4 separate regions of the Homo sapiens genome follow, and all the other regions are linked to region 3. The links are contacts of gene promoters, found by promoter capture Hi-C in human tissues and cell types (Jung and others, 2019). All regions are on one chromosome and are shown on one strand. The core of a region is centred on a gene start or on the middle of the fragment in contact, and the rest is flanking DNA. Distances in the headings are between cores, read along the strand shown.

Region 1 (5,176 bases), core at 518-3,017, 380 kb after region 3:
GGCTGGTCTTAAACTCTCGGGCTCAAATGATTCTCCCACCTCAGCCTCCAGAGTAGTTGGGACTACAGGCATGCACCACTGCACCCAGCTCCCCTCTTTATATGAGAACGATAGTCATTGAATTGAAGATTTTAATTCCCTAGAACTACAAGCAAGGCACAGGATAGGAAGAAACAGCTGAGGGAAAGACTGAGTTCTTTACAGAGGAATCAGATGGAGGAGAAACAGGAGGAGAAACACCCAGGTGAGAAGAGACACCAAACCTGTTATGAGAGGAGATGAGAGGAACACTGAACTGTTTATTTTGTGGAAGAGAAGATATTGAGAGATGTGATAGCAAGTCTCAAAAATCTGTATCTTCATTGTCTCCACCCCGGTCAAGCTACCTTCATCTCTTGCCTGGATGACCACAATGCCCACCTAACTGGTTTCCCACTTCACTCTTGTTCCCTTCCAGTCCACACATCACCCAGCATGATCTGTGATCTTTTTTTTTTTTTTTTTTGAGAGAGTCTCAGTCTGTCACCCAGGCTGGAATGCAGTGGTGTGATCTTGACTTACTGCAACCTCTGCCTGCCGGGTTCAAATGATTCTCCTGCCTCAGCCTCCCAAGTAGCTGGGACCACAGGTGCATGCCACCATGCCTGGCTAATTTTTGTATTTTTAGTAGAGATGAAGTTTTACCATGTTAGCCAGTCTGGTCTCGAACTCCTGACCTCAAGTGATTTGCCTGCCTTGGCTCCCAAAGTGCTGGGATTACAAGCATGAGCCACTGCACCCGGCCACAGAATGATCTATTAAAAACATAAATTGGCCAGGCATGGTGGCTCATGCCTGTAATCCCAGCATTTTGGGAAGCCAAGGTGGGAGGATTGCTTGAGCCCAAGAGTTCGAGACCAGACTGGGCAACATAGCGAAATGCTCTCTCTACTAAAAAAAAAAAAAAAAAAAAATAGCCAGGTGTGGTGGCACATGCCTATAGTTTCAGCTACTCAGGAGGCTGAGGTGGGAGGATCACTTGAGCCCAGGAGGTGGAGATTACAGTGAGCTGAGATGTTGCCACTGCACTCCAGCCAGGGCAATAGAGCCAGACCTTGTCTCAAAATTAATTAATTAATTAATTAATTAATTAAACAACAATAAAACAAACCACAAATCAGATCATATCACCTCCTGCTTAAAACCCTTTAACAGCTTCCACTGCATATAGAAGAAAATCCGCACTCCTGCTATGCCTTGTATCCTCCCCAACTTCATCTTGTGCCATTCTCCTATTCTGCCTACTAGGCTCCAAACATGCTGGCCTTCTGACTGATAGAACATGCCATATTCTTTAACTATCTTTCCCCAACTCTTCTTGTGTTTCAAATCTCAGCTTAAATGTCACTTCCTAGTGAAGCTTTCCCTGACCACCCTAAGTAGATCAGCTCTTCTTGTTATTCATCATAACACTGCTTATTTTCTTCACAGCATTTTTCTCAAACTATACTTCTTTTGTTATTTGTTTACTTATTGTTATTGTTAATATTATTAATAGAATTAATATTACTTGTTTACTTATTATTATTTTTGCTAATTTCCTATCTTCCCTACTAGACAGAAGACAGTTTCTGAAGGCAGAGGCCAAGTTGGTCTTGTTCACTGCTGAATCCCTCATTGTCTCGTACAGAACCTTGTATATAATAGGTGTTCAGTAAATTTTTGCTGAATGAATGCATGAATCTAAAGGATCATTATGGGGAAAAGTAGACTAATGTAGTATAACTATAAATGGAAAATCTACATCAATTGGGAGAGCTCCATATTAAAAAAAAAACCTTTCTGTTAGAGATGTCCAAAGATGGAAGGCACTCCTTCAGGAGTTTCCTGACCCTGGAGATATCATGTTGAATCTGGGATTTGTAGCGATACCAAAGAGCAGCCTCCACAATATGGCTGGGGACCAAGCAAGACCAGTGTTTCTCAAAGAGTGGTCAGATAGTGTTAATAATGCAGTACCAAGTTCCCATGCAGCACAGGATTGTTCAGGTTGGGCCAGGGTAACCCTGACACCTACTTCTACTAGATTATTCTCCAGGGAGTGGGGCCTTGAAATTTTCATTGCATAAGCTCCCCATATAATTCATGGTTATTGAAGTTTGAGATGACCTTTACAGCCCTTCCAACTTTGAGATTCTTTGATTCTATAAAATGAAAAAACAATGTGAAAGAGTTCTGTGATCCATAAAGCACTGCACAATTGTGGAGCACTCAAGATATAAGTATACCCACAAGTCAATTTCCCTTTCACCAGGGAATGGGAGCAATGTACCTTGACTAATTAGCAGCCTAATGTTCCCTCTGGGTGCTTCTGCCCTAGCTGCAGTAAGTATCAAGAAGGGCTGAAGGAGGAGGTAGATGGAGGCACACCCCAAAAACTGAACCACAGATTACTCAGAATGCCAGAGGAGGGCCAGATATGGTGGCTCATGCCTGTAATCCCAACACTTTAGGGGCCGAGGTGGGAGGATCACTTGAAGCTAGGAGTTAGAGACTAGACTGGACAACAAAGCAAGATCCTGTCAAAAAAAGAAAGAAAAGAAAAGAGAAAAAGAAAGAATTCCAGAAGAGGATGGTACTTTTGAGACTCACCACTCTTATTTACCATTGAGAAACCTATGGCACAGAAATAGAAAGTGATGACCTCAAGGTTACTTACAAATTAGTAGCAACACTATTCTAAAGCACTGTTGTCCAAAATGGTAGTCACTAGCCACATATAGCTATCAAACACTAGAAATGTGGCGGAAGAACTGGATTATTTATTTTACTTAATTTTAATTACTATAAATATCAATAGTTACATGTAGCTAGTGGCTTCCATGTTGGATAGCACAGTTCTTGAGTCTAAATGTCTAGTTCAGGGCCTTCTCCTCCTAAATGACATGGCCTCCAAAAGGGGGGTATTGTTTCCAAATTCAGAATTAGCATAAGGAAAAAAATAAAAATGTAGGAACTCTGAGAACTGTGAGGTTGACAACTACCAAGGATGGAATTTTAGTGTACTTAACAGAAATTCATCATTCTGTTTGGTTTTCCCTTAGTTCCTTAGAAAAAGTTCCTTTTGAAAACACCACAGATTTCTGGTTTCAAATGATATCTAACTTGTAGACCCTAATGCAGCCTCACTCAGCTCCTGATTCAAAAACTGGAATCAACTGTCATCCTATCACCCAAATTTGGACGGGCTTTTCACCAACTCAAAACTGATGAAACTAGAGTAAATAGCCTCAATCAGTGGACTATTTATGAAATTTCTCCCTAAACATTGATTCCTCACCTATTGAGGGAGCCAGGACTGTACCGGCCAGTCTTCAAAAGGCAGTTAATGGGCCAGGTGCAGTAGCACATGCCTGTAATCCCAACATTTTGGGAGGCCAAGGTGGGAGGATCACCTGAGGTCAGAAGTTCGACACCAGCCTGGCCAACATGGCCAAACCCCATCTCTACTAAAAAAAAAAAAAAAAATTTAGCCGGGCATGGTGGCACGCACCTGTAGTCGCAGCTACTTGGGAGGCTGCACATGAGAATCTCTTGAACCTGGGAGGCAGAGGTCGTAATCAGCCAAAATTGTGCCACTGCACTCCAGCCTGGGCGACAGAGCGAGACTCAGTCTCAAAAAAAAAAAAAAAAAAAAAAGGTCAGGCATGGTCAAGGAGATACAAATCAAAATAACAATCAGATCCCACTTCACACTCACTAAGATGGCCATAATCAAACAAACAGACAGTAACAAGTGCTGACAAGCATGTGCAGAAATTGGAAACCTCATACATTGCCGGGAATATAAAATGGTTCAGCTACTTTGGAAAACAGTCTGGCAGTTCCTCAATAGGTTAAATATAGACTTACCATATGACTCAGCAATTAAACTCCTAGCTATATACCCAAGAGAATTGAAAACATACATCTACACAAAAACATGTACCCAAAGGTTTGTAGTAGCGTTATTCATGACATCAGAAAGTGTAAACAACCCAAATGTCCACCAATTGAGGAATGAATAAAGAAAAATGTGGGGCCAGGTGTGGTGACTCATGCCTGTAATCCCAGCACTTTGGGAGGCTGGGGCGGGTGGATCACAAGGTCAGGTGTTCAAGACCAGCCTGGCCAACATGGTGAAACCCCGTCTCTACTAAAAATACAAAAATTAGCCGGGCGTGGTGGCCAGTGCCTGTACCTCAGCTGCTCGGGAGGCTGAGGTGGGAGAATCGCTTGAACCCGGGAGGCGGAGGTTGCAGTGAGCCGAGATCATGCCATTGCACTCCAGCCTGGGCGACAAGAGCAAGACTCCATCTCAAAAAAAAACAAAAAAGAAAGAAAAGAAAGAAAAAGAAAGGAAGGAAGGAAGGAAGGAAGGAAGGAAGGAAGGAAGGAAGGAAAGAAAGAAAGAAAGAAAGAAGGAAAGAAAGAAAGAAAGAAAAAAATGTGATAACGTTGAGAGGTGACAGCGTGCTGGCAGTCCTCACAGCCCTTGCTCGCTCTCGGCGCCTCCTCTGCCTGGGCTCCCACTTTGGCGGCACTTGAGGAGCCCTTCAGCCCACCGCTGCACTGTGGGAGCCCCTTTCTGGGCTGGCCAAGGCCGGAGCTGGCTCCCTCAGCTTGCAGGGAGGTGCGGAGGGAGAGGCCCGAGCGGGAACCGGGGCTGCGCACGGAGCTTGCGGGCCAGCTGGAGTTCCGAGTGGGCGTGGGCTTGGCAGGCCCCGCACTCGGAGCAGCCGGCCGGCCCTGCCGGCCCCAGGCAATGAGGGGCTTAGCACCCGGGCCAGCAGCTGCGGAGGGTGTACTGGGTACCCCAGCAGTGCCAGCCCACCAGCACTGCGCTCCATTTCTCGCCAGGCCTTAGCTGCCTTCCCGCGGGGCAGGGCTCGGGACCTGCAGCCCGCCATGCCTGAGCCTCCCCCACCCCCACCGTGGGCTCCTGTGCGGCCCGAGCCCCCCCGACGAGCACCGCCCCCTGCTCACGGCACCCAGTCCCATCGGCCACCCAAGGGCTGAGGAGTGCAGGCACACGGCGCAGGACTGGCAGGCAGCTCCACCTGCAGCCCCAGTGCGGGATCCACTGGGTGAAGCCAGCTGGGCTCCTGAGTCTGGTGGGGAAGTGGAGAACCTCTAAGTCTAGCTAAGGGATTGTAAA
Region 2 (5,747 bases), core at 364-2,863, 430 kb after region 3:
TTTTGAGGCTAGCATAGCACCTATATAAGCCCATCTGCTCCTCCTTTTGAGTAGGAAAAGAAAGCTCAATACCAAACAAAAGCCAGGCACGGTGGCTCACGCCTGTAATCCCAGTACTTTGGGAGGCCAAGGCGGGTGGATCACCTGAGGTCAAGAGTTTGAGACCAGCCTGACCAACATAGTGAAACCCTGCCTCTACTAAAAATACAAAAATTAGCCGGGCGTGGTGGCGCGTGCCTGTAGTCCCAGCTAGTCAGGAGGCTGAGGCAGGAGAATCACTTGAACCCGGGAAGCAGAGGTTGCAGTGAGCCGAGATCATGCCACTGCACTCCAGCCTGGGTGACAGAGTGAGACTTTGTCTCCAAAAACAAACAAACAAACAGTCTCCAAGCAAATACTGAAGGTGGTGGTAATACAGCTTCATTAGCAACATAACATAGTAGTAGCTTGTGGGCTCTGGTGAGACTGCCTTCATTCAAATTCCAGCTTGACCCTTCGCTAGCTGTGCAGCCTTGGGCAAGTGGTTTAAACTCTCTAAATCTGTTTCTACAAGGGGGCTTGACAATAATGGTATCAACCTTGTAAGGTTGTGGTAAGGACTAAACAAAATCATACATGTAAAGCTTTGTTTGGTTGAAAATTGAATAAATGTCTTCAAGTAATCTTTGGTAACTTATTCTCTAATCAGCTATGGATAATCCAACACATAGTTATTAGGTAAGAAACCCTCAGTTGAATTTTTTTTTTTTTTTTTTGAGATGGAGTCTCGCTCTGTCGCCCAGGCTGGAGTGCAGTGTCATGATCTTGGCTCACTGTAACCTCTGCCTCCCAGGTTCAAGCAATTCTCCTGCTTCAGCCTCCCGCCTCAGTTGAATTTTTAAAAGTCTGGAGCATTACATATTGTTTCTAAGGTCAATGCAAACTTTGCTCTAAAACACACACACACACACACACACACACACACACACACACACACCTATATGAAATCTATTCAACCAGTTCATCCAGTAAATAGTTATTGAGCACTTACTCTGTGCCTTGGGAAAAAACTCTAAAAGAAAGTAAAGATCCTGACTGGATGTGGTGGCTCATGCCTGTAATCCCAGCACTTTGGGAGGCCGAGGTGAGTGGATCATTTGAGGTCAGGAGTTCAAGACCGGCCTGGCCAACATGGTGAAACCCCGTCTCTACTAAAAAAAATTAGCTAGGTGTGGTGGCAGGTGCCTGTAATCCCAGATAATCGGGAGGCTGAGGCAGGAGAATCACTTGAACCTGGGAGGCAGAGGTTGCAGTGAGCTGAGACAGCGTCACTGCACTCCAGCCTGTGTGACAGAGAAAAACTCTATCTCATTAGGAAGAAAAAAAAAATCCTCATATACAAAATCCTCCCCCAACTAAACTCTTAATAAAACTTTAGACTACAAACATTAGTTTAAATGAATCCAGTTTGTTAATTCAAAGCAAATATTTTCTGATCCATTATGCACCAGGCACTTTCATAGAAAGGATTAAGAAGTCAGATAACTAAAAGGCTCTTGATTTAAACATTAAATAAAAGTTGGTTCCAGAAAAGAATCTAAATAATACCTAAATACATTCAACAGCTATTTTCTGGGTATTTCTTATGTGCAATTAATGAGCTTCTGCACTCATAGACCTAGTAGTCCAGTGAGGGAGGTAGATTTCATCAAATAATTACACAAACACCACAAAAGTGAGGTAGGTGGGGTGTATTGAGAGCCTGTTGTTTGCTCATCTCCCACCCCTTGTCTTTTCAGCAAGGTGGAGGCCGCCTACCTCCGGGGCCATATCAATGACTCCCAGGCAGCCCCTGCCCCACTCCTGCCTGTCTATGAACTAGACGGAGCTCCCACGGCTGCCCAGGTGCTGATCATGGGACCTGATGACTTCATTGTGGCCATGGTTAGGTATGCCAGCTCAGACTCAGAACCTGGAACAAGGGATCCTCTGAACCAAGAGGGGGTGGGGGCTGGGTAGAGGTGAGGATGGGCCAGGGCTCACCCAACCCCACCTCGGCCCCCAGCTCCCTGAACCAGCCCTTTGGCAGCGGCCTTATCACCCCCTCGGGGATCCTGCTCAACAGCCAGATGCTGGACTTCTCCTGGCCCAACCGGACAGCTAACCACTCTGCACCCAGCCTGGTAGGATTTGCTTCCCTGCTTTCCTGGGGACCCTGAGGCCTATAGGTAGGAGGTGCAATGGCATGGCTGCCCCTTTCTCCCTACTTTCTCCAGAATCTTCTAGTATAAGGAAGCCTAAAGAAGAGGTTCACCTCATCCCTAGCCCTGCTAAGTCTGGGACATGGAGCCTGGTGGGTCTGAAGAACCCTTGTCCCATTCTGTCACTGTCTTACTGTGTGACCTTGTGAAGATCTTGCCCTCTCTGGGCAATTTCTTCACCTGTACAATGAGGGTTTTGGCTCCTATTTGATGTTTTGGGCATTTTCCAGCACTAGCGGTCTGTGACTATGTGAGCTTGAGCTGATGGGGCTCAGCCCTATGGTTGGGCACCAAAGAGGGACCCAAGGAGGAAGGATTTAATAATTTTTATCTAGTTAAAAATCAGCACTCTTACACCCCGCCATCTGGGGCCCCAGCAGGGCAAAGACACATAGAGATGATCAGGGTGGGGTTATCCTGTTCTTCCCCATTGCCATCTTTCTTGGCTTGGTCCTTTCTCCTGTGACCCGTAGCAGCCTCATAGCTCAGTGGATGTACTTATCACTCCCCCATCCACCCCACCCATCCAGGCACCCTACCCATTTCACAGATAGCAAACTGTTGTCTGGGAAGGGACCAGTCTCCCAGGAAAACTGGGCCTGTGGAAGATGTAGAAGAGGGAGAGCAGTTGGAAGGGTTGTGGAGGGGCCCTTTCCCGGTCTTGTCCCACCCCACCTGCCCCTTGTGGTCTCTGTCCTCTAACAACAGGAGAATTCAGTGCAGCCAGGGAAGCGGCCACTCTCTTTCCTGCTGCCCACAGTGGTCCGACCCGCGGAGGGGCTCTGTGGAACCTACCTCGCTCTGGGGGCCAATGGAGCTGCGCGGGGCCTCAGCGGCCTGACACAGGTGAGGTTTACGCCATGGTTGGCCTTTTTCAGCCGGGAGCCAAGCTGTGGCCTAGACTGCAGATGCCTGTCATATCTGTGGCTTGTTTCCATTCCTCATGCGGCAAACATGGGCTGAGGCTGTTTTGTGCCAGGCGCATCCTGGGCAATGTGGACATGGGCTGCGCTGAGTTTCTTAGTGAAAATGGAGCCCTGATGCTCCCTGTCTTTCCCGGTTGCAGGGGAAATGGCAGGGTCAGTAGATTGAAAAGTGGGGTTAGCATCTGGGTGGCCTGGGTTCTGTTAACCTCAAGTCCCATTATACCTCTACCCAGCATCTGAATAGACAACCAGCCCTCTTTAGGGTGGGATTTGAAAGGAAGGGCCTGCTTTTCTCCAGAACACCTCAGAATGGCTCCATGAATGTCTTGAGAACCTGATATATATGCCAGGCACCTATTTTGGCAGGTGGTGAGTTAACGATCTTAAGTTCTGGAATCAGACACTCCTGGGTTCCGGCCCAAGTGCTACCAATTTGTAACTGTGTGATGCTGGAGCATTCACTTAACAGCTCTGAACCTCAGTCTCTTCATCTTTAAAATGGAAATAATAACAATAGCTAACATTTAAAGAGTTCGTACTAAGTGCTGGGCACTGTGTTATGTGTGTTAACCATTTTAACCTTCCCAGTTCTGGAGAGAATCCTTATTTCTATTTTATAGATAAGGAAACCGAAGCCCAGAGAGGTTAAGACTTTAGGTCAAGTACCTTCAGCTAGAAAGAGCAGGGAGGCAGTTTGGTTCCAGAGCCTACGCACACTCCTAACCACTAAGTTAAAAGCACCCACATTGTGCCCTAGACCACTCCTAGCTATTAACCTTGCCCTATCCAGAGAGAAAAGAAGGGAGCCCCGGGCTAGATTAAAGAGACTTGGTTCTAGTGGTGTATCTTCCCTGGCTTCCTCTAAACTCTGGAGTAAGTCATTTTCCTTGCTGGACTTCACTTTCCCTCTCTGTGAAATGGAAACAGTCATCACAGGCCTGCCTGTCTTCCAGGGCTGTTAGGAGGCTCAGATGACACCCGGTGTAAGAATTCTCAAGACTAAGGAGCCTGGACCAAGGGTGAGAGCTGAGGAATCCTGGACCATCACCCCTGGGACAGCCCTGATTTTTCTGTACCTTGGCTACCACAGGTTCTGCTGAATGTCCTGACCTTGAACCGGAACCTGAGTGACAGCCTGGCCCGCGGCCGCCTACACCCGGACCTGCAGTCCAACCTCCTGCAGGTGGACAGTGAGTGCAGAGCAGAGACCTCGTGGGGCGGGCACAGGGACAGGTAGAGAAAGGACTCCTCCCAAGGGTGCCCATGCCTCAACCAGCACCAACTGCCAGTGAAGTTTGGTTTTATTTGGCAAATTTCTATTGGAGCAGTGAACGATCTGGGGATTGGAACCAGTCTTGCCATTTCCTGGTTGTGTGGCCTTGGGAAATCCATGTCTCAACTCTGAGCCTCAGTTTTCTCATTTGTAAAATAAGACACAGTTGTTCATTCTTCAAACTTTCATTTACTCAACAGTTTGTATTGAACACGTACGTGTTCCAGGCATCATCCTAGGTGCTGGGGATTCTGCATTTACAGGCAAACAAGAAAATAAGTCATCAAAGAAATATGAGACAAATAAATGCTCTGCCAACTGTCAAAGCAGGGTGATATAATAGGACGGACTCAATGATCAAGGAAGACTTCTCTTTGGTGGCATTTAAGCTGAGATCTAAAGAGTGAGAAAGAAACTGGGTGCAATGGCTCAGACCTATAATCCCAGGCTGAGGTGAGAGGATCGCTTGAGGCCAAGAGTTCAAGAGCAGCCTCAGTAACATAGTGAGACCCCCCTCCACCCCCCCGTCTCTATAAAAAAATTTTTTTAAATTAGCCAGGCATGGCACGTGCCTGTGGTTCTAGCTACTCGGGAGGCTGAGGCAGGAGAATTGCTTGAACCAGGGAGGCAGAGGTTACAGTGAGCCAAGATCACGCCACTGCCCTACAGCCTGGGTAACAGAGTGAGATCCTATCTCCTAAAAAAAAAAAAAAAAAGTAAGAGAGAGCCCACTATACAAAGAATTGGTGCAGAGCTTTGTAGGTCAGGGGAGCAAGTACAAAGAACTCAGGGCAGGAGTGGGTTTGGTGAGTTTGAGGACTAAAAAGGAGACCAAGGTAAGCAAGGATGAAATTAGATCAGAGAGGCAGGCAGGCGCCGGATCGTGGACCTTAGGGTGAGGAGACGGACTTTCCTCTAAGAAAAGGGCTTAATTTTGGCACAGCTGAATTTTATAAACAGGAAAGTATCTGCACCTTTGAGGAGTTTTTATTATAACAGACAATGTATTAATATGACACGAGTCCAAAAGAATACAGAATTGATTGAGACACAGTCCTTGCCTGTTCAATATTATTATCCCCATTCTATAGAGGAAGAAACTGAGGCTCACAGAAGTTATAAACTAGTCAAAGATCAACCACTAAGTGGCAGAACTTCAATTAGGACACACACCTGGCTGATACCAAAGACTCTATTCTTTACTGCACAGCTCTTGATATCTCCTGGACTGAATCACATTAGAAGCAGAGACCGCGATCTTCAACAATCACATCCTGTGGTTGGCCAGCGACACTTGGATCCCAGCTG
Region 3 (5,753 bases), core at 1-2,500:
GATGCCCTAAAGAGGACTGAGTGGGTCTGAGGTGAATGAGTGAGGAAGAGCAGAGTATGTGGATACCCGGAAACACACACACACACACATCATCATTATCATCATCATCATTGTCGTCGTCATCATCTTGCTGAGTCATCATCATCATCATCATCATTGTCGTCGTCATCATCTTGCTGAGTGTCTCTTGAAGTACAGGCTGTGACAGGTTGTGGGCCATTTTCCTGAACTCACCACTTACCCGGGATAGTAAACATGATACACATCAATAAAGGCAGACTTTATTGTGAATCACAGCGCCTGGTGTATCCTGAACTTTGAGGAGTTATGGGAGGGACACGTTGGGGGAATGGGAAGGGCACCATTCAGGCCAATTATGGGGAAACCCCTGGAGGAGGGTGAATGCCGAAGGAGGAATTGGGGGAGTCCAGGGGCTCCAAGTTACCACTGTGACATTTTGAGAGAACCCGGGGCTTTTGCAGATTCTACAAAATGTGGGCCAAGTTCATCCTGTCCAAGTGTGCAGCAGGGCCCTTGGCCCCCATCACTATCCTGGGGACAGAAGTTGGCTGCTGAGTGAGTGATAGAGGCCGTGCGAGAGGCACATCGTGGAAGCCAACCAGCACCCACATCCTTGCCCACCCTGGACCCCTTTCCAGCCTTTTCCTGAGCCCCTGCTTCCTCAGTCCTCCCCTCTCTCCAGCACCTGCAGCCTGGCTGCCTTTCCGTCTCTGGCTGCGCTCTTTCTCCAGCCTCGGTCTGGCCGCACTTCTGCCTCCTGGAACTCTCTCCATGGGTAGCCTCTTCTAGTCCACCCGTCTTCAGCCCCTCATCTCATTCGTCAGCACTCCACTCCCCTGCTGGGCTCCAGACATGGACTTCTGTCCCTCAAGGCACAGCTGGACTCATCCCTTTCCCCAAACCTGCCCTTCCTCCGGCTTCATTTCCATCAATACCTCCATCATCAACCCTTCCGCGAGACACTCCTGGCCCCTCCTCTCCCTCATGCCTCACAACCGACCAGCCGGAGGTCTAGGTCGATGACAGCTCCTAAAAAGCTCCTGAATGAATAATGAATGAATGAACGCGAGCAGGCTAGGCGTGGGGCCAGGCGGGGTCGCGCCCAGACCGCTCGCGACCATAGAGTCCGCCGGAGGCCGGAGGTAGAGGGGCTGGATGCGTGGCGGGGAGCGCCGGGCTCTCCCGGAAGTCTCCCTGGACGGAAGTGGAAACGGAAACCTTTTTAGGGAGTCCAAGGTACAGTCGCCGCGTGCGGAGCTTGTTACTGGTTACTTGGTAAGCTGGTGTGAGGGGAACCTGGGAGGGTCAGCTCCGGTCCTGGGTCGGGAGGGGTGGGGGCCAGAGGATTCAGGGCCGGAGGTTCTGGTGGGGGCCCAGTGGGCGGGACCCGAGGACGGAGGGGCCGGGAGGCCGAGAGGGGCGGGGTCGCGGCGGGGCCTGAGGGACGGAGGCCGGGATACTTGGGAAAGGATCCGCCGGCCTTGAACTCCCGCCTCCGCCGCCCCTAGGCCTCATGGCGGTCCGAGCTTCGTTCGAGAACAACTGTGAGATCGGCTGCTTTGCCAAGCTCACCAACACCTACTGTCTGGTAGCGATCGGAGGCTCAGAGAACTTCTACAGGTGCGGCGGGAGCCCCGGGGCTTACGGTGGCGGGGAGGCGTGCGCAGGAGTCAAGAGCTCCGGCAGTGGGAGGGTGCCGGCCCCTCTGCCCCGCCACCACCGAGTCCATGTCCCTACAGTGTGTTCGAGGGCGAGCTCTCCGATACCATCCCCGTGGTGCACGCGTCTATCGCCGGCTGCCGCATCATCGGGCGCATGTGTGTGGGTAAGGCAGGTGGAGGACGCCGAGGGAGGGAGTGGTCTCCAAGCACCATTAATTACACCCCCGGAGGGAACCCGGAGTGACCTAGGGATTCCCAGGGTATCATCTGTTATCTCTGGGCACTATAGAATCTCTCAGGCCAAGCGTCAGGAGATCGGGGCAACCCTCTAGCAAAGGCTGCTGGATAATAGTAATAACAAATAATGTAAAGTGCTTTCACTCCTGTTCTCATTCCTTCGTCACAAAGACACTAGAAGGTAGGAGTTACTGGCCTAACTTGACTGATGAGGAAGTTGAGACTTGACCTAAGTGACTCAGTAAGTTCCACACCTAGTTCCTAGTGTTGGAGAAGGATTTTTCTCTTTTTTTTTTTTTTTTGAGGCCAGATTTTTGCTCTTTCGCCCAGGCTGGAGTGCAGTGGCAAGATCACAGCTGTCTGCATCCTCAACTTCTTAGGCTCAAGTGATCCTCCCACCTCAGCCTACCAGGTAGCTAGGGCCACAGGCACGTGCCACCACACCTGGCTAATTTTTACATTTTTGGTAGAGACGCGGCCTCCCTGTGTTGCCCAGCCTGGCCTTGATCTCCTGGGCTCAAGTGATCTTCTTACCTTGGTCTCTTAAAGTGTTGGGATTATAGGCGAGAGCCACTATACCCAGCCGAGGATTTGTATCTCATCTCTCCCTGCCACTGACTGGGCAAGGTGCTTTCTCTTTCTAAGCATCCATTTCTGTCTCTGTAAAGATTAGCTAAGATATGCGGTCTTCCTGCTCAGTTACGTTGGAATCTTAAATTCCCTTTACCACATCTCTACCCTACCTTCCTACCTGTCAGCACTGTTAATTCTGGTCGTTGGTCCTTTCCTTTTTATTATTATTATTATTTTTTTTTGAGATGGAGTTTTCGCTCTTGTTGCCCAGGCTGGAGTGCAATGGCACGATCTTGGCTCACTGCAACACTCTCTTCAAGTGATTCTCCTGCCTCAGCCTCCCAAGTAGCTGGGATTACAGGCGCATCCCGCCACACCCGGCTAATTTTTTTGTATTTTTAGTAGAGATGGAGTTTCACCATGTTGGCCAGGCTGGTCTTGAACTCCTGACCTCAGGTGATCCTCCCACCTCGGCCTCCCAAAGTGCTGGGATTACAGGCGTGAGCCACTGCGCCCGGCCGGTCCTTTCATTAAGCTGGATCTGTCTTCCATTACTGCTGCCCATTGTTTCTTAGTTCTGCTCATTGAGGTCACTTTTAGAAGTCTGTTTATTTTATTTTTTTACTTTTACTTTAATTTTTAAAAATCTTAAGCCTGCTTGGGAGGTCGAGGCAGGTGGATCACCTGAGGTCAGCAGTTCGAGACTAACCTGACCAACATGGAGAAACCCCGTCTCTACTAAAAATACAGAAATTAGCCGGGTGTGGTGGCGCATACCTATAATCCCAGCTACTTGGGAGGCTGAGGCGGGAGAATTGCTTGAACCCTGGAGGTGGAGCTCACCCTGCGGTGAGCTGAGATTGTGCCATTGCATTTCAGCCTGGGCAATAAGAGTGAAACTGTGTCTCAAAAAAAAACAAAAAACAAAAAACAACAACAACAAAAACTTAAGCCTAGTGACCTCAAAGTATTTTCCTATTCAGTTAAAATACTCTGATCTCTAACCATGCCCTTAGGACTTGAAGCAAGTTCTGACAACAAGGGAGATTTTAGCTTAGTCCTTGTGTATTTTATGATGGGAGTGACCTGGAATTCAGAAATTGATTGGCGTGTATTTGTAGATTGTTCATTCTTGTTGCTGTATGGTGTGTTTTGTGTAAGTATATCACAACGTATTCATCCATTCCATCGACAGTGCATTTGGGCAGTTTTCACTTTGGTCTGTTAGGAATAGTGCTGCTGGCCGGGCATGGTGGCTCACGCCTGTAATCCCAGCACTCTGGGAGGCCGAGGCGGGCGGATCACGAGGTCGGGAGATCGAGACCATCCTGGTTAACACGGTGAAACCCCGTGTCTACTAAAAATACAAAAAAATTAGCCAGGTGTGGTGGCGGGTGCCTGTAGTCCCAGCTACTTGGGAGGTTGAGGCAGGAGAATGGTGTGAACCGGGGAGGTAGAACTTGCAGTGAGCCGAGATTGTGCCACTGCACTCCAGCCTGGGCAACAGAACAAGACTCCGTCTCAAAAAAAAAAAAAAAAGTAATAGTGCTGCTATGTTTTTTTAGTGAACACATGTACATATTTCTACTGGGTATATGATACCTAAGAGTGGCATGGCAGAGTCACAGGTTATGTGACTATTTAGTAGTAGTTGCAGATGATGCCAGATAATTATCTAAAGTGATTGACCAACTTACACTCCTGTCTCAGTATGAGAGTTCAGTTGCTCCATATATCTTTGCCAACACTTGGAATTGATGACTTGTAAAAATTTTAGTCATTCTGGCTGGGGGCAGTGGCTCACACCTGTAATCGTAGCACTTTGGGAGGTCGAGGTGGGCGGATCACCTGAGGTTAGGAGTTCGAGACCAGCCTGGCCAACATAGTGAGACCCCATCTCTACAAAATCACAAAAAGTTAGCCAGGTGTGGTGGCACGCACTTGTAATTCCAGCTACTCAGGAGGCCGAAGCAGGAGAATCACCTGAACCCAGGATGCAGAAGTTGCAGTGAGCTGAGATCGCACCACTGCGCTCCAGCCTGGGTGACAGAGTGAGACTCTGCCTTAAAAAATAATAATCTAGCCATTCTGCTATGTGTGTAGTGTTAGCTCAGTTTTTTTTGTTTTTTTGTTTTTTTTTTTTGGAGACGGAGTTTCGCTCTGTCACCCAGGTTGGAGTGCAGTGGCGCGATCTCGGCTCACTGCAAGCTCCGCCTCCCGGGTTCACGCCATTCTCCTGCCTCAGCCTCCCGAGTAGCTGGGACTACAGGCGCCCGCCACCACGCCTGGCTAATTTTTTGTATTTTTAGTAGAGACGGGGTTTCACCGTGTTAGCCAGGATGATCTCGATCTCGATCTCCTGACCTTGTGATCTGCCCACCTCAGCCTCCCAAAGTGCTGGGATTACAGGCGTGAGCCAACACGCCCGGCAGCTCAGTTTTTAAGTAGCAAAATATACAGCTAATGCCAAGAGCTCAGCTTCCCTCCCAGTTGGTGATGGTGAAGTAGGCAGGATTTATTGGGATTCCTGGGTGGTCTCTGGCCTGCCCTGGGTGTTTTCCAGATCAGTGGGTTGGAGGGCTGGGCTCTGGGCCTAAAGCTTTCCTGGGAAAGCTGATTGGGCTGGGCTGAGTGGTATCCTCAGCCCCTAGGGCTCAGCAGGCATCTTGTGTATTCACCCTCTAATTTGGGTTTCTCCAGGGAACAGGCACGGTCTCCTGGTACCCAACAATACCACCGACCAGGAGCTGCAACACATTCGCAACAGCCTCCCAGACACAGTGCAGATTAGGCGGGTGGAGGAGCGGCTCTCAGCCTTGGGCAATGTCACCACCTGCAATGACTACGTGGCCTTGGTCCACCCAGACTTGGACAGGGTGAGGCAGCCCAACTTGACCCAAGAGTCACAGGGCCATCCTAGTCAGTGGTTAGCCACTGTTCTTTCCCAACAGGCAGCAATTAGGGGTCTCTCCTGTGGTTTTTCTATATGGGCTCTTGAGTTTCAGGTACTCATTGGAATAGTGATAACAGAGGCCTTATCAAGTGTCAGAAAGAAGCTGGGGAGGGTATGAATCCTTCATGATTGGGGAGATTGAACCATCCAGTCCTGCATCCTGGGCCAGGATAGGTGATTGACTGTTGAACTTTTGACTGTGGGTGAGAGGGGAAAGAAGTGATATTGAGACCAGCCTCCAGCTGTTCAGGGCATGCATGAATATTAGGGGCTTCACAGCTGCCCTTGACTCTGCTCTAAGCTGTACT
Region 4 (5,137 bases), core at 2,477-4,976, 370 kb after region 3:
GCTCTTGGGAAAGTGAAATGGGGTGGGGTTGAAGGGACAGGTGAGGCTCCTGCAAGTATGAATACAATAATCACAACAGCTAATGTTTATCAAGTACTAATTGTTAGTTTCTCTGCTAACCCCTTCATGTGGATTATCTAACTCAATCAAGCAAGCAACCATAGGAGACAAAGGCATTATTTTTTTCTGAGACGGAATTTTGCTCTTGTTGCCCAGGATGAAGTGCAATGGCACAATTTCGGCTCAATACAACCTCCACCTCCCCGGTTCAAGTGATTCTCCTGTCTCAGCCTCCCGTGTAGCTGGGATTACAGACGTCCACCACCACGCCCAGTTACTTTTTGTATTTTTGGTAAAGACGGGGTTTCACCATGTTGGCCAGGCTGGTCTTGCACTCCTGGCCTCAGGTGATCCGCCCACCTCAGCCTCCCAAAGTGCTAGGATTACAGGTGTGAGCCACCGTGCCCGGCCAGAGACACCACTTTAACCCTATTTTACAAATTAGAAAATGTAGATTCAGAGGTGTTAAATAACTTATCTGAGGTCACAGAAGAGGCAGAGCTAGGATTCGAACCCAGGCAGGGTGACTCCAGATCCTACGTGATTTTCTACTATGTTATAAAGCCTCCTTTCTGTAGAATCTTTGTCAAAAGAAGATGGGACTTAGTCTTCCAGACCCAAAAAGGTACCATCAGGAATCTGAGCAACTCTTAAAACGCCCTTAGGAGACTTATGGCCCAAAAGGAAGAGATGCAGGCAAAGTATCGAGGGTCCCCTCCAGGGTCTCTCAGTGAGCAAACCTCCAACCATGAAGTTTCAGTCCTAAGCAGCTACCAGGAGAGATTAGGTTATTAACTCTAAAGCAAAGTACCCTTGGCAGACCCTTTCCCTCTCTCCTTAAAGACTCCCAAGGGCCAGGGCCTCACCAGATAACCTTCAGCTTCACCTTCCAACTCTTCCCCGGACTCATTCAGGATTGCAGGAGCTACACCAAAGAATGGGAAAGTCTAGAAGCAAACGGGAGACAGAACCCAAGAAGAGGAATGAGGCAACTCTGACTCAACTCCCAAGGGGCCCCAGAACCCCAAATTCTTCACACATGTCAGTCCAGTTCTCCACTATCTAACTAGGCCAAGTGCCCCAAGACACCATCCCTGCCTAGCCCAAGACCAGCCAGGGAAGCATCACTCACAGCAGAACCGGGTTTCATGGGTGTGGCACCAGGAAGGGGAGTCAACATGTGGCCACCCTGGGGAAGTCAGAGATGAGAAATTTGAGTCAATCTTCCCACATTGTCCCTGGGCCCCAGCCTTCTGTACCCTTCACTCACTGTCTCTGTTTGCCAGAAGGTGTCCACGATGGGGCAGCGCTGGGCACCTACCACCCGGTGGTACCATAGCCAGGCCTCAGGGTTGATGGGTTCACCCACTGTGCCTAACACCTGCAAGGATGCCCGGCTATGCCTGGGGCAGGGGAATGGGAGAGAGGAAGGCTCTGAGTACTACTGGAAGACACACATACCCAGGCTTTTCTCTTGCCCCATCCTCTATTCCAGGTCAGAGAGTTGGGACAATGGAAAAGAAGAGACTGTACAAAGGCCAGCACCCAGCTCTGAGGGATACCCACAGGGCAGCAACTGGGAAGAGGTCTCACTTGGTGACAGGCTCATCTCCAAACTTCATGAGCAGACGGATGGCTGTGGGTGCTGTGTAGAACTTGGTCACCTTGTATTTGTCCACAATGCTCCACAGGCGGTTCACGTCCGGATATGTGGGAATCCCCTCAAACTGACCCATGAAGGCTGGTCATTCCCAGTCTTTCCTAATAGTCCTTCTATTCATCCCCCTACCATTCCCTCAGGTTCAGTATTTTGCCCTTTCTGACCAACCATATCTTCACTCCCTGGCCAGACAAGCCAAGATACCATCCTAGTCAGGATACGCAACCCCCTCAGGACTTCTCTTTCTCCAGAAAACAGATGATTGTATAAGTCCCCCTCCCTCTAGACCAAGCAGCCTTGGGAGGTAGTCACCCAGGATAATCTTGTCCATCCCCCAGCTAGGCCAGGTGGCTCCCTTCTCACCAAAACACTGGTGGCACCATTGGCCAGTGGCCCATAGGTGACGTAGGAATGACCAGTGATCCAACCAATGTCTGCCGTGCACCAGAACACATCCTCTGCATGGAAGTCAAACACATACTTGAAGGTTGTGGCTACATAGAGCATGTAGCCCCCAACTGTGTGAACCACACCCTGTGGGAAGAATGGGGAACAGGTTAGGGTCTTATGCCCACCCCTACTGACCACCAAATGGAGGCTGGGCAGAGCTGGAGGAAGATCCTCCTCAGGGATTCCAGCCCTGCCAGCACCCTTTTCACAGCATCCATCTCCCTTCCATCTCCTTTTCTCCATGCTCCCATCTCATCTCCTTTATCACACTCCTGATGACACATATGTCTATCAGGCCATCATTCATACCAGCACCCTCAGATGGTATTTCAGAGCCACCCACATCACTCACACATGAGCACTCATAGCACACTCATAATAGTCCCTCTGTTGTGTATTTGTGCCCACACACTCAATTACACACCATCAGAGTGAGTGGGAAAAAAAAGATAATTCCCTTTGCTTATTCCATCCCTACCCCCATCTCTATGAAAGAGAGGCCAAAATTGTGTTTCTAAAGACTTATTGAGGGATATTCCAAAGCATATGGAGATAATTTAGGGGTGGAGTGGGCAGAAGGTAGAGTGACATAGCTTTCAAGTCAATGGAAGAAACAGTTTTCTTAAGTGTTTCCGGCTCCCATGGTGTGTGCTGGCAGAGGACTACATGTTAATAGTGTGCCAGGTGGAAGGAATTGAACTCTAAGAGTTATGGTCTTAGAAGCCTGAGAGGGATCTCTGTGCCCACCCTTGGCCTTGAGTTAACAGAATAGCTCTCCTTCAACCAAACCATGGGTGCATAGGGAAAGAACATCCATGTCAGCTGTATGAAAACCCTCCACCTGAACTGTCTCACCCTGGGCCTCACCACCTATAGATTGAGGATTTATGTCTTAATTTGATTTAGAAAAGACAATGCTACATTTCCAAAACTCAGGGTTGTAGGAAAAAAATAATTTCATTACTTGTTTCCTCAGAAACTTACTTCTTACCCCTACATAATACACACACACACACACACACACACACACACACACACACACACACTTGCCTTGGGTTTGCCTGTGGAGCCACTGGTGTACAGGATGAAGAGTGGGTCCTCGGCATCACACCACTCGGGCTCACACTCATCCCCTGCCTCTTGCATGAGCTCATGCCACCACAAGTCAATCCCTTGGTTCCATGAGATCTGCAGGGATGGGCAGGGAAGAACTGTGAACAGCTCAAGATGGGGACAAGATACACCCGTACCTTGCCCCTGGAGGGAATGAGGTGGGACAGGCAGGTAGGAGTACAGGAAGGGAGAGAAGGCCCTTCAAGGATGGAATGGAACAGAAAGAACAGGAGCAGAACCCAAGCTTACTGAGTACTCCAACCACCCTGCCATCCTACCCCCATCTCTACCCCAGAACTCCTCTCACCTGGCCTCAGGCTGAGGAGGAACCCTTGGCTGGTCCCTTCCCATCCTTCAATTCTGAGCTGAAATGTCACCTTCTTGGAAAGCCTTTACCTGAACAGTATCTGATAGATTGCTACCCCCAACCCTGCTATTATTATTGATCACAACACCATGTTTCTTTCCCACACAGTACATATTTCCTGTTATTTTGTTTAGTTGTCTACTTGATTACTGTCTCCCCATCTAGATAGCGACATCTATGAAGGAGGTGAAATGTCTTTCCTCCCGACCCCTGCCATATCTCCCAACACCTAGCAAAGTGCCTGGCACTCAGTCAATTTTTGTTGGATGAATGACTATGCACACACAGGTCTACATACATACATATGTACTTATGGGACTAGGCTCATTAGCAGGGATGCGGACACCACACAATTCAGAAATGCAAAATTAGTCAGAGCTTACAGGTGAGGTGGGCACCTGACCCTGTTAGTAGTAAAATAAGTCAACAGATCTTGGTCCAAGCACTTTTGCCTACATGTCCAGACCCAATCCACATCTGCGTGTTTCCTACCCTAGCTCTGCTCCTGCCTTTACACCACTGGTACCAATAGGGTTTCCCATAGAGACTTTTGCTTGAGGGGACAGGTTCCATTCAGCAGGAAGCTTTGCTTCAAGTTGGTGAAGAAGGACCAAGGTGGACTTCTCCCAGTAGAAGGATGTCCCCCTATGCCTTTGATAATTACTTCTGGATCTGTCATCCTGAAACTTCTCTAAATTCTCCTTTGAAACTGTTTTACTTTTCTGTCTATATCACCTCTTTGAACACCAATTTTGAGTCTACCATCTGCTGAATGAAGTTAGATCCCTTGAATTTGTCCAAAATCTTCAGTGTACTTCAATACCAGTTCTGCCACTTCCTAGCTATATGACCTTGGGCAAATCACTTTACCTTAAGTCTCTCCTTTTACAAATGAGGACAGTCATTCTTGCCTTAACAGACTCACAGGATGTGGTAAACACCAAAAGAAAAAAGTATTATCTAGTAAACATCAAGCCTTGGATTGCCCCAAGGGTAGAGGTTGGGGTGAGATGAGGAAGACTGATGAATGTCAGGAGAGACAGAGGTTAGTTCAGTGACTACTGGGAGTTAAACTTAAGAGTGTGGGGCTGGGCGCGGTGGCTCACGCCTGTAATCCCAGCACTTTGGGAGGCCAAAGTGGGCAGATCACCTGAGGTGAGGAGTGAGTTCAAGACCAGCCTGGCCAACATGGTGAAACCTCATCTCTACTAAAAATACAAAAAGTAGCCAGGCGTGGTGGTAGACACCTGTAATCCCAGCTACTTGGGAGGGTGAGGCAGGAGAATCACTTGAAACCAGGAAGCAGAAGTTGCAGTAAGCCGAGATCGTACCACTGTACTTCAGCCTGAGCGACAGAGTGAGACTCCATCTCAAAAAACAAAAACAAAAACAAAAACAACAAAAAAAACCCACAAAAACTTAAGAGTGTGATGATAGGAACTGTTTGGGGTTTGCTTTAGCTGTCACAAAGTCCTTTCATATTAATT

Evidence for each region. The method cuts DNA at HindIII sites, captures the fragments that hold promoters and counts their contacts. A contact is called where the count stands out against the background at its distance.
Region 1: a contact is called between a fragment that was not itself captured here and the fragment with the promoter of EIF6 in region 3, in 1 of the 25 tissues and cell types used here (IMR-90 fibroblasts).
Region 2: a fragment that was not itself captured here is called in contact with the fragment with the promoter of EIF6 in region 3 in 1 of the 25 tissues and cell types used here (aorta).
Region 4: a contact is called between a fragment that was not itself captured here and the fragment with the promoter of EIF6 in region 3, in 1 of the 25 tissues and cell types used here (dorsolateral prefrontal cortex).

The regions. Positions count from the first base shown.
Region 1 is chr20:34,898,669-34,903,844 of GRCh38, reverse strand. All of the region lies in intron 2 of ACSS2 (acyl-CoA synthetase short chain family member 2), which reads right to left. Among named protein-coding and RNA genes, the nearest start is that of ACSS2, 25 kb to the right of the region's middle. The HindIII fragment of the contact is 3,512 bases long and covers 12-3,523 here.
Region 2 is chr20:34,848,570-34,854,316 of GRCh38, reverse strand. It overlaps GGT7 (gamma-glutamyltransferase 7), which reads left to right. Exons shown (of 15, transcript NM_178026.3): 11 at 1,779-1,928; 12 at 2,045-2,162; 13 at 2,949-3,086; 14 at 4,257-4,356. Among named protein-coding and RNA genes, the nearest start is that of GGT7, 21 kb to the left of the region's middle. The HindIII fragment of the contact is 4,589 bases long and covers 1-3,907 here.
Region 3 is chr20:35,280,269-35,286,021 of GRCh38, reverse strand. It overlaps EIF6 (eukaryotic translation initiation factor 6), which reads left to right and starts at 1,250. Exons shown (of 7, transcript NM_002212.4): 1 at 1,250-1,296; 2 at 1,530-1,641; 3 at 1,761-1,846; 4 at 5,193-5,368. The coding sequence starts at 1,535. FAM83C (family with sequence similarity 83 member C) reads left to right here. Exons shown (of 4, transcript NM_178468.6): 4 at 1-291. It overlaps FAM83C-AS1 (FAM83C antisense RNA 1), which reads right to left and starts at 771. Exons shown (of 2, transcript NR_109815.1): 1 at 707-771; 2 at 250-552. RefSeq lists an enhancer at 688-1,238 and a silencer at 1,331-1,520. The HindIII fragment of the contact is 18,620 bases long and covers 1-5,753 here.
Region 4 is chr20:34,917,656-34,922,792 of GRCh38, reverse strand. ACSS2 (acyl-CoA synthetase short chain family member 2) reads right to left here. Exons shown (of 18, transcript NM_018677.4): 8 at 3,221-3,358; 9 at 2,084-2,254; 10 at 1,654-1,787; 11 at 1,331-1,463; 12 at 1,193-1,249; 13 at 927-1,007. Among named protein-coding and RNA genes, the nearest start is that of GSS, 36 kb to the left of the region's middle. RefSeq lists an enhancer at 754-1,953. The HindIII fragment of the contact is 5,456 bases long and covers 999-5,137 here.